2 separate regions of the Homo sapiens genome follow, and region 2 is linked to region 1. Evidence: promoter capture Hi-C in 16 types of primary human blood cells and fetal thymus (Javierre and others, 2016). All regions are on one chromosome and are shown on one strand. Each heading gives the region's core, a stretch centred on a gene start or on the middle of the fragment in contact. The rest is flanking DNA. Distances are from core to core; before and after follow the strand shown.

What was found. The method cuts DNA at HindIII sites, captures the fragments that hold promoters and counts their contacts. A CHiCAGO score of 5 or more calls a contact.
Region 2: a fragment that was not itself captured here is called in contact with the fragment with the promoter of TMEM70 in region 1 in 1 of 17 cell types (non-activated CD4 T cells); the score reaches 6.6 in non-activated CD4 T cells.

Annotation. Positions count from the first base shown.
Region 1 is chr8:73,974,328-73,978,628 of GRCh38, forward strand. It overlaps TMEM70 (transmembrane protein 70), which reads left to right and starts at 1,868. Exons shown (of 3, transcript NM_017866.6): 1 at 1,868-2,164. The coding sequence starts at 1,955. RefSeq lists silencers at 1,657-1,736, 1,786-2,001, 2,167-2,216. The HindIII fragment of the contact is 7,182 bases long and covers 1-2,452 here.
Region 2 is chr8:86,503,341-86,507,978 of GRCh38, forward strand. RMDN1 (regulator of microtubule dynamics 1) reads right to left here. Exons shown (of 10, transcript NM_016033.3): 2 at 3,655-3,772. It also overlaps the pseudogene SLC2A3P4. Among named protein-coding and RNA genes, the nearest start is that of RMDN1, 3.0 kb to the right of the region's middle. The HindIII fragment of the contact is 1,164 bases long and covers 2,726-3,889 here.

The DNA of each region.
Region 1 (4,301 bases), core at 618-3,117:
GCTATGATGGTGCCACTGCACTCCAGCCTGGGCGACAGAGCAAGACCCTGTCTCAAAAACAAAATAAAAGGTGGGCACAGTGGCTCACCCTTGTAATTCCAGCACTTTGGGAGGCTGAGGTGGGCGGATAGCTTGAGCCTCAGGAGTTTGAGACCAACCTGGGCTATATGGTGAAACTCCATCTCTACTATTAAAACAAATATTAAAATAAAAATAAACAAAATGTAAGTAGAAGCTAACTTTTTATAAAATAAAGTTATCCATATAGAGGTATTATCATTATCTCCTTCTGAATACTCCCCCCAATAGACAGTATTTGGAGTTGCCAACATGATCATATTCTATTGATTTATTTTTATTTTTATTTTTGAGACAGGGTCTAGCTGTGTCACTCAGTGCAGTGGTGCAATCAGGGCTCACTGCAGCCTCAACCTCTTGGGCTCAAGTGATCCTTCCACCTCAGCCTCCCAAGTAGCTGGGACTACAGGCAGGTGCCACCATGCCCAGCTAATTTAAAAATTTTTTGTAGAGACAGGGTCTCACTTTGTTGCCCAGGCTGGTCTCAAACTCCTGGAATCAAGTGATCCTCTCACCTGGGCCTCCACGTAGTATTGGAATTGCAGGCGTGAGCTCCCGCCCCTGGCCACACATTATTTTAGACTATGAATTTGTTCCTCTCCGGTGCAAATAACATGTCAAATCAAAAACATGTATAGTTCTGCAGTGGTAAACAAAAGTGTGTTTCTATTACTAAGATGCTCATCCTTCAAGACTGAGCTAAATGTGAAGCCAGTCTGAAGACATTCTGAGGCAAAATTAATCATGTTCTTCTTTGTACTTCTGTGGCATTTGTTTGTTCTTTTTTTTGAGACACGGTGTCACTTTGTGGTCCAGGCTGGAGTGCAGTAGTGTGGTCTTGGCTCACTGAAGCCTCGACTTTGGGCTCAAGCAATCCTACCATGTCAGCCTCCTGGGTAGCTGGGACCACAGGCACACACTTACCATGTGTGGCTTATTTTTGTTTTAGGTTTTTTTTTTTTTTTTTTTTTTGTAGAGACGGGGTCTCCCTGTATTGCTCAGGCTGGTCTCAAACTCCTGGCCTCAAGAGATCTTCCTGCCTAAACCTCCCAAAGCGCTGGGATTACAGGTGTAAGCCACCACGGCCAGCCACATTTTGTATATTGCGGTGTCTCAATTGTATTACATTATATTCTAGCCAATTTTCAGGTATTTTCCTCCACTGTTTAAGCACTGTGGATTCCCAGTTTAATCTAGTATTTTGTATCCTCTGCTCCTAGCTCAGTCCTGGCAATAGATTCAGTACCTCTTTAACAAGTAATGAATCAATGTGTATATGGATGTGAATGATTTCCGAAGACAAATCTGGTAACACCTATCAATATTACATGAACAATTCCATTTATTTTCCTCCAACCCGATGATTCAATTAAGTTATCACTCATTTTTGTTCAAATCGTATATTCTTTCTTCTGTGCCAACAGGCTAGAATCATTTTCCGCAAAGGAAACAGTTTTTAGTGATGTCGTCCACGAGAAAAAAAAATATTTAACCCTGGCTTCTGGGCATTGTCATTCTCGTACAGCCCTCTGCCCCTCCACACTGTTATAAAGAAGGTAAAATTCTAGGAAGGAGGAGCCGCTGAGCCAAGGACAGAGCGGCGGGCTCCCAGCTCAGCTGGCGGATAACGCGCGCGGCCGGGAAGGCGGCAGGCGGGCGGCAGGCGGGCGGCAGGCGGGCGGCAGGCGGGCGGCAGGCGGGCGGCAGGCGGGCGGCAGGCGGGCGGCAGATTCTGCGCACGCGCAGGCAGCCCAGCTGCCAGTCAGGCGTCCCGGGCTGGGCATGCGCCACTTGTGCGGCAGTCGGGTGGGAAGCCGTGTCTCGCAGTCGTGGACTCGTGCAGCTGGGGCGTCCGCAGCCGCTCGTCACCCGCGTGATGCTGTTTCTGGCGTTGGGCAGCCCGTGGGCGGTCGAACTGCCTCTCTGCGGAAGGAGGACTGCATTGTGTGCGGCCGCCGCGCTCCGAGGTCCCCGGGCCTCTGTCTCCCGGGCGTCCTCCAGCAGCGGGCCTTCGGGGCCGGTAGCCGGCTGGAGTACGGGGCCTTCGGGAGCCGCGCGCCTTCTCCGGCGTCCGGGTCGAGCGCAGGTAGGGCGTCCGAGGTCTGGTGTCCCAAGTGAGGCGGGGAGGGCGGGCGTCGTGTCGGGCCTGGGGAGCCCCAGCGGCTCTTCGCGACCTCTCCCAGGTGTCCGTGGCTGGAGCGCGGGAGGAGCCCCCTCTGCGGGGCTTGCAGAAGTAGCAGGCCGAGGGCCCCGGGGTCCTCAGCCTCCGCGAGTCCAGGAGAACGGCTGGAAAGTGCTTACTTTTATGGTAGTTCCAAATCCAGAGGGTTTGTGGTGACAACTATATGTAGTTCCTTTTCTGCCCTTGAGTAGAAGCTTAGAAGTGTTAATTTGCAAAAAATTGGATGCAGCACCTGGAAATAGAACCGAAAGAGCCAGGTTAACCTGACTTTGAGCTTGTTCTACTTTTATGAGGTGGCTGTACTTTTAAGAATTACTTTGGTCCCTGGGAAAAGGGGGATGCAGATGTTAATTCTTTTATTTTGATCTGAATAAATTGTCTTCTAATTCTACTCTGTAAAATATCAGGATTGGCAAACCTGGTTAAAACTTGGAAGAAATGCTTAAAATGGAAATTGGAATCTAATTACATTTCAGCATTGAGGAATTAGGCATGCCTTTTACATTTTGAAGTGTATACACTGTGAAACTCATTTTCAGATGTATGGGGAACGCTTCTGTTCCCTTGAAATTTGATGTAGGATTTCAAGTAAATTTTATTTCTTTTTTTTTGGAGGTGAAGTCTCGCTCTGTCACCCTGGTTGGAGTGCAGTGACGTGATCTTGGCTCACTGCAACCTCCGCCTTCCGGGTTCAAGCGATTCTCCTGCCTCAGCCTCCCCAGTAGTTGGGATTACAGGCGCGCTCCACCACACCCCGGCTGATTTTTTTTTTGTATTTTTAGTAGAGACGGGGTTTCACCGTGTTGGCCAGGCTCGTCTTAAACTCCTGACCTCAAATCATCCTCCTGCCTCGGCCTGTCAAAGGGTTGGGATTACAGGCGTGAGCCGCTGTGCCCAGCCAAATTTTATTTCTTGTCAAGAAATAAGAGGACCAGGGGATACACGGTATTTACAAGGTCTTTAGAGAAAGATTTGATCTCTTTAATACTATCATATAAATATTTTAGCAGTATTTGTAAAAGGCCTGGACTTTAAATATAATGTGAGTTTGCGGAGTATTTTACTTAAATTATTTTAGTAAAATTAAATTTTATTTCTTAGAGATGGGGTCTTGCCATGTTGCCCAGGCTGGCCTTAAACTCCTGGGCTCAAGTGATCCACCTCAGCCTCCCCAGTAGCTGGGGCTATAGACGTGTTCCATTACACCAGCTAAATGTATTTATTTTTTGAAAAGGTGTTGCATTTAAATAGAATGGAAATGATGTCGTCATTAACAGTGGAGTAGAAGAAACTGTTACTATTTTTACTTGTTCAAGGTCACACTAGACCTAGAAACCTGAGAGCTGGGATGCTAAGCTAACAAACTCCAGCTCTGCAGTTTTCTACTTGTGACTAGAATTAAGGCAAGCCATTCTGTCAGCCAATTTATTTCTTTAACTCTGTAGATTATTTGGGAGAATTCCTTATGTCACCTCATGTGACAAGTTCTTTTCATTACAATTTTATTTTATTTTTTTGAGACGGAGTCGTGCTCTGTTGCCCAGGTTGGAGTACAGTGGTGTGATCTCGGACCACTGCAATCTCCGCCTCCCAGGTTCAAGCGATTCTTCTGCCTCAGCCTCCGGAGTAGCTGGATTACAGGCGCCAGACACCATGCCCGGCTAATTGTTTGCATTTTTAGTAGAGACGGGGTTTCACCATGTTGGCCAGGCTGGTCTTGAACTCCTGACCTCAAGTGATCCGCCCCCCTCGGCCTCCCAAAGTGCTGGGATTACAGGCATGAGCCACTGCACCTGCATTACAATTTTAAAAATAAACTTAAGCTGGGCATGGTGGCTCATGCCTGTAATCCCAGCACTTTGGGAGGCCAAGGTGGCAGATCACTTGAGGTCAAGAGTTCAAGACCAGTCTGGCCAACATGGTGAAACCCCGTCTCTAATAAAAATACAGAAATTAGCCGGGTGTGGTGGTGGGCACCTGTAATCCCAGCTACTCAGGAGACTGAGGCAGGAGAATTGCTTGAACCCGGGAAGCAGAGGTT
Region 2 (4,638 bases), core at 2,058-4,557, about 13 Mb after region 1:
GACTCCGTCTCAAAACAAAACAAAACAAAACAAAAAAAAAAAAAAAAAACAAAAAAAAATAACAAAAATAACTTGAGAGATGCTGTAATGGTGAGAGTTTAGAGCATTCCTGAGGACCTGGAGAAAACTCGTTTCTGAGAAGGACATTTTGAAGGTTTTGTTGCCTGAAAAAGTTATCTCTGGAATCACACTCCTAGATCTTTATTGAAGACTTGAAAAGAATTAGATTAGGACCATGCGGACACAGAAGGTCACCCCAGCTCTGATCGTTGCCATTACAGTTGCTACAATTGGCTCTTTCCAAGTTGGCTACAACACGGGAGTCATCAGTGCTCCTGAGATGATCATAAAGGAATTTATCAATAACACTTTGAGTGACCAGGCAAATATCCCTCCCTCTGAGATGTTGCTCACGTCCCTCTGGTCCTTGTCTGTGGCCATATTCTCCATTGTTGGTATGACTGGCTCCTTTTCCGTTAGACTCTTTATCAACCACTTTTTGACAGGTGCAATTCAATGCTTATCGTCAACCTGTTGGCTGTCTCTGGTGGCTGCCTTATGGGATTGTGTAAAGCAGCTGAGTTGGTTGAAATGCTGACCCTGGGCTGCTTGGTTATTGGCCTCTTCTGTGGACTGTGCACAGGTTTTATGCCCATGTACATTGGAGAGATCTCAGCTACTGCCCTGCAGGGTACCTTTGGCACTCTCAACCAGCTGGGCATCATTGTCAGAATTCTGGTGGCCCAGATCTTTGGTCTGGAATTCAAATTCATCCTTGGGTCTGAAGAGCTATGGCCGGTATTATTGGGCTTTACCATCCTTCCTGCTATCCTACAAAGTGCAGCCCTTCCATTTTGCCCTGAAAGTCCCAGGTTTTTGCTCATTAACAGAAAAGAAGAGGAGAATGCTAAGTAGATCCTCCAGCAGTTGTGGGGCACCCAGGATGTATCCCAAGACAACCAGGAGATGCAAGATGAGAGTGCAAGGATGTCACAAGAAAAGCAAGTCACCGTGCTGGAGTTCTTTAGAGTATCCAGCTACCAACAGCCAATCATCATTTCCATTGTGCTCCAGCTCTCTCGACAGCTCTCTGGAATCAATGTTGTGTTCTATTACTCAACAGGAATCTTCAAGGATGCAGGTGTTCAAGAGCCCATCTATGCCACCATTGGTGCACGTGTGTTTAATACTATCTTCACTGTAGTTTCCCTATTTCTGCTGCAAAGGGCAGGAAGGCGGACCCTGCATATGATAGGCCTTGGAGGGATGGCTTTTTGTTCCATGCTCATGACTGTTTGTTATTAAAGGATGAGTATAATGGGATGAGCTTTGTCTTTATCGGGGCTATCTTGGTCTTTGTGGCCTTTGAAATTGGACCAGGTCCCATTTCCTGGTTTATTGTGGCCGAACTCTTCAGCCAGGGCCCCCGCCCAGCTGCGACTGCAATGGCCGGCTGCTCCAACTATACCTCCAACTTCTTAGTCGGACTGCTCTTCCCCTCTGCTGCTTATTATTTAGGAGCCTGTATTTTTATTATCTTCGCCAGCTTCCTCATCACCTTCTTGACCTTTACCTTCTTCAAAGTCCCTGAGACCCATGGCAGGGCTTTTGAGGATATCACATGGGCCTTTAAAAGGCAGGCACATGGTGCAGATAGATCTGGGAAGGATGGCATCATGGAGATGAACAGCATCCAGGCTGCTAAGGAGACCACCACCAATGTCTAAGTCATGCCTCCTTCCACCTCCCTCCCAGCATGGGAAAGCCACCTCTCCCTGAATGAGAGACCTCATCAGGATGAACCCAGGACTGCTTCTGAATGCTGCTACTTGATTCCTTTCTTATCCCACGCACTCCATGCGCACCTCAAGGCTGGGGTTTGTTGGATTTTCAATGGTTTTTTAAATATTTTATTTCCTGGACATTCTCTTCTGCTTAGGAGAGACCAAGTGAACCTACCTTCATTTCAGGAGGCAATGGCCACTTGGCATATGACAACTTTGCCAGTTTTTCCTTCCTTGGGTTCTAATATTGCCGCACTAGGGGATATAGGAGAGGAAAAGTAAGGCGCAGTTCCCCCAACCTCAGACTTATCAGGAAGAAGATATACATATGAGTGTGGAAGGCAGACGGGGTTTATGTAAGAGCACCTTCCTCACTTCCATATAGCTCTACAAGGCAAATTAACTTGAGTTTTATTTATTTTACCCTCTGGTTTAATTACATAATTTTTTAAGTTCTGGGATACAGGTGCAGAATGCGCAGGTTTGTTACATAGGTATACATGTCCCATGATGGAAATGTTTATTTTTTTAAGTGTAATTTTGCCAAATAATAAAAACAGAAGGAAATTGAGATTGGAGGGAGGTGTTTAAAGAGAGGTTATACAGTAGAAGATTTCATGCTGGGGAGGTTAGCGTGCAATATGAAGAATTTAGGGAGAAATGTAGTTCATTATTGGAGGGTATATTATGTGGTGCCTGAAGTCTGCACATTACCTCTTGACAATTTCTGTCCTTCAGATGGAAACTCTTAATTTCCCATAAAAGTCATATGCCTACATAATAAAGTTATTGATTTCCTTTGGAACTTTTTTCTTTTAATAGTTTACATGTAGTAGTACTTGAAATCTAGGATTATTAACTAATATGGGCATTGTAGTTAATGGTGGTTGATGGGTTCTAATTTTGAATGGAGTCAAGGGAAGGGAAAGTTATTTCTAGAAAGCTTGTTCCCCCTCACTGGACCAAACAACTCCTCCTTGTAGGAGACTCATTACTTTTGAAGTAATCCCACCACCTATCTGGTGGGAGAGCCATCCAAATGAGAAACTTAAAATAATCAGTTCTTGGTAGAGATTCATTATTTCTCCATTTTGTGCTTTAGGAGATTTTAGGTGTTGATTTTGTTTTATTTTAACTCATATCTTTAAAGGAATTCCCCAAAGAATGTTTATAGCTAACTTGGAATTTATAACCTCAGCTCTGGGATTTTTTTCTGAACGATTATTATCTAAAGGTGTGTTGTTGCCTTTAGGGTCATGCCATGCTTGTCTATGTCTGTTACCATGTCACTGTGGTCCTATGCCAAGTGCCCTTAGGGGGTCTCAATCTTTCCAACAGACCATGTTCGAGATAGTATGAGTCAATGTACAGTGTAGCCCACACTTGAGAGGATGAATATGTGTGCACTGTCCCTTTGCTCTGGATGGAAATAGGTTATTGTTGACTTATTTTTTCTGTGTTCCTACAGCCCCTTTTTCATATGTTGCTCAATTTCCCTTCCCCTTCTTGGTGCTTACACATCTCAGACCCTTTAGCCAAACCCTTGCTGATAACGGTATCTTGGTTCTCAGTTCTCACTGTTTCCTCTGGTCACGGAGACTTCAAATAAAAATGCACATAGCTATGGAGTGGGGTTTAGCTGGAAAAGGTGACCTTCTTCCAACTTCACGTCAACTTCTGGCTCCTCAAACAGTAGGTTGGCAGTTAGGCAGGGAAGTTGTTTTCCCATTTCTCACTGAGCAGATTGTGAATATTTCCATATGGATTTTCTATTATTAACATTACCCTGATTCTTTGTTTTAAAATAAAAATTCTGAATGTACGCACACAAAAAAACTCTAAATGTTCCATATATCTAATTTATGCTTACCTTTGGCTGTGGCATGAACCACAGCAGCCTGAGAGATAACCTGGTAAGTTTCAAAACCCAAATACGACAAAGCTGAGAGTAAAAGGCCTCTTTTGAAAGTTCCTGGGTTTCCCATTACCTATGGAAACAATTATGTTAAGAGTTACAAACTTTGAAAATTTGAAGGTACTGCTACCCCAAGCAAAAATTACATGAATTTTCTCCCACCCCCAAAGCAATCGATCATAATACTGGAAGCTTAAAAATTACTTCATCAAAATCTTTAGTAAAACTATCTCAAAGCGTATCTTATTGAGAAAAAGATATCCCCTGGAGTCGCCGCTCATCTAAAAATCACACTCCTGCTGGAAAGGAAGAGCTACAACTTATTTGCTACAACTTATTTGCAAATGCATGGATATTGCAAATTGTATGAAGTAAAATATGAGACACCAACACATAATAAAAATGAATCTTACAGACAAGATTATCATATATAGTAATTACTACATATAAAAATGTACATGGCTAACTTTTAAATTTTTTTGTAGAGACAGGGTCTCACTGTGTTGCCCAGGCTGGTTTCAAACCCCTGGACTCAAGCAATCCTTCCGCCTCGGCTTCCCAAAGTGCTGGGATTACAGGCTGAGCCAAGGGGCCAGGCCTAAAATGGGACTTCAAACTCATCATTGTTCCAATTTGAAAACTTACGGCTAACTAGTTTCATACTTAGAACTCCTCCCATCTCTCTGCCTATATTATCTATAACCTCCCCATTTGGTTATAAACTTCCAAGGAAGGGGAATATGCCAAATTTTAACCACCCCTCCCCACCATCAGTCCCATAATAATTCTGAAAGATTTTAACTGAGCAGTTAAAAATTTGAGTTTAAAATAATGAAACCCCTAGTTCATGTGAAATATATCATATGCATTAATGCCATTCCAATTCCCTGACAAGAATAAACAGAGGCCCACGAGCAGTCTAATAGAAATACCAGAACT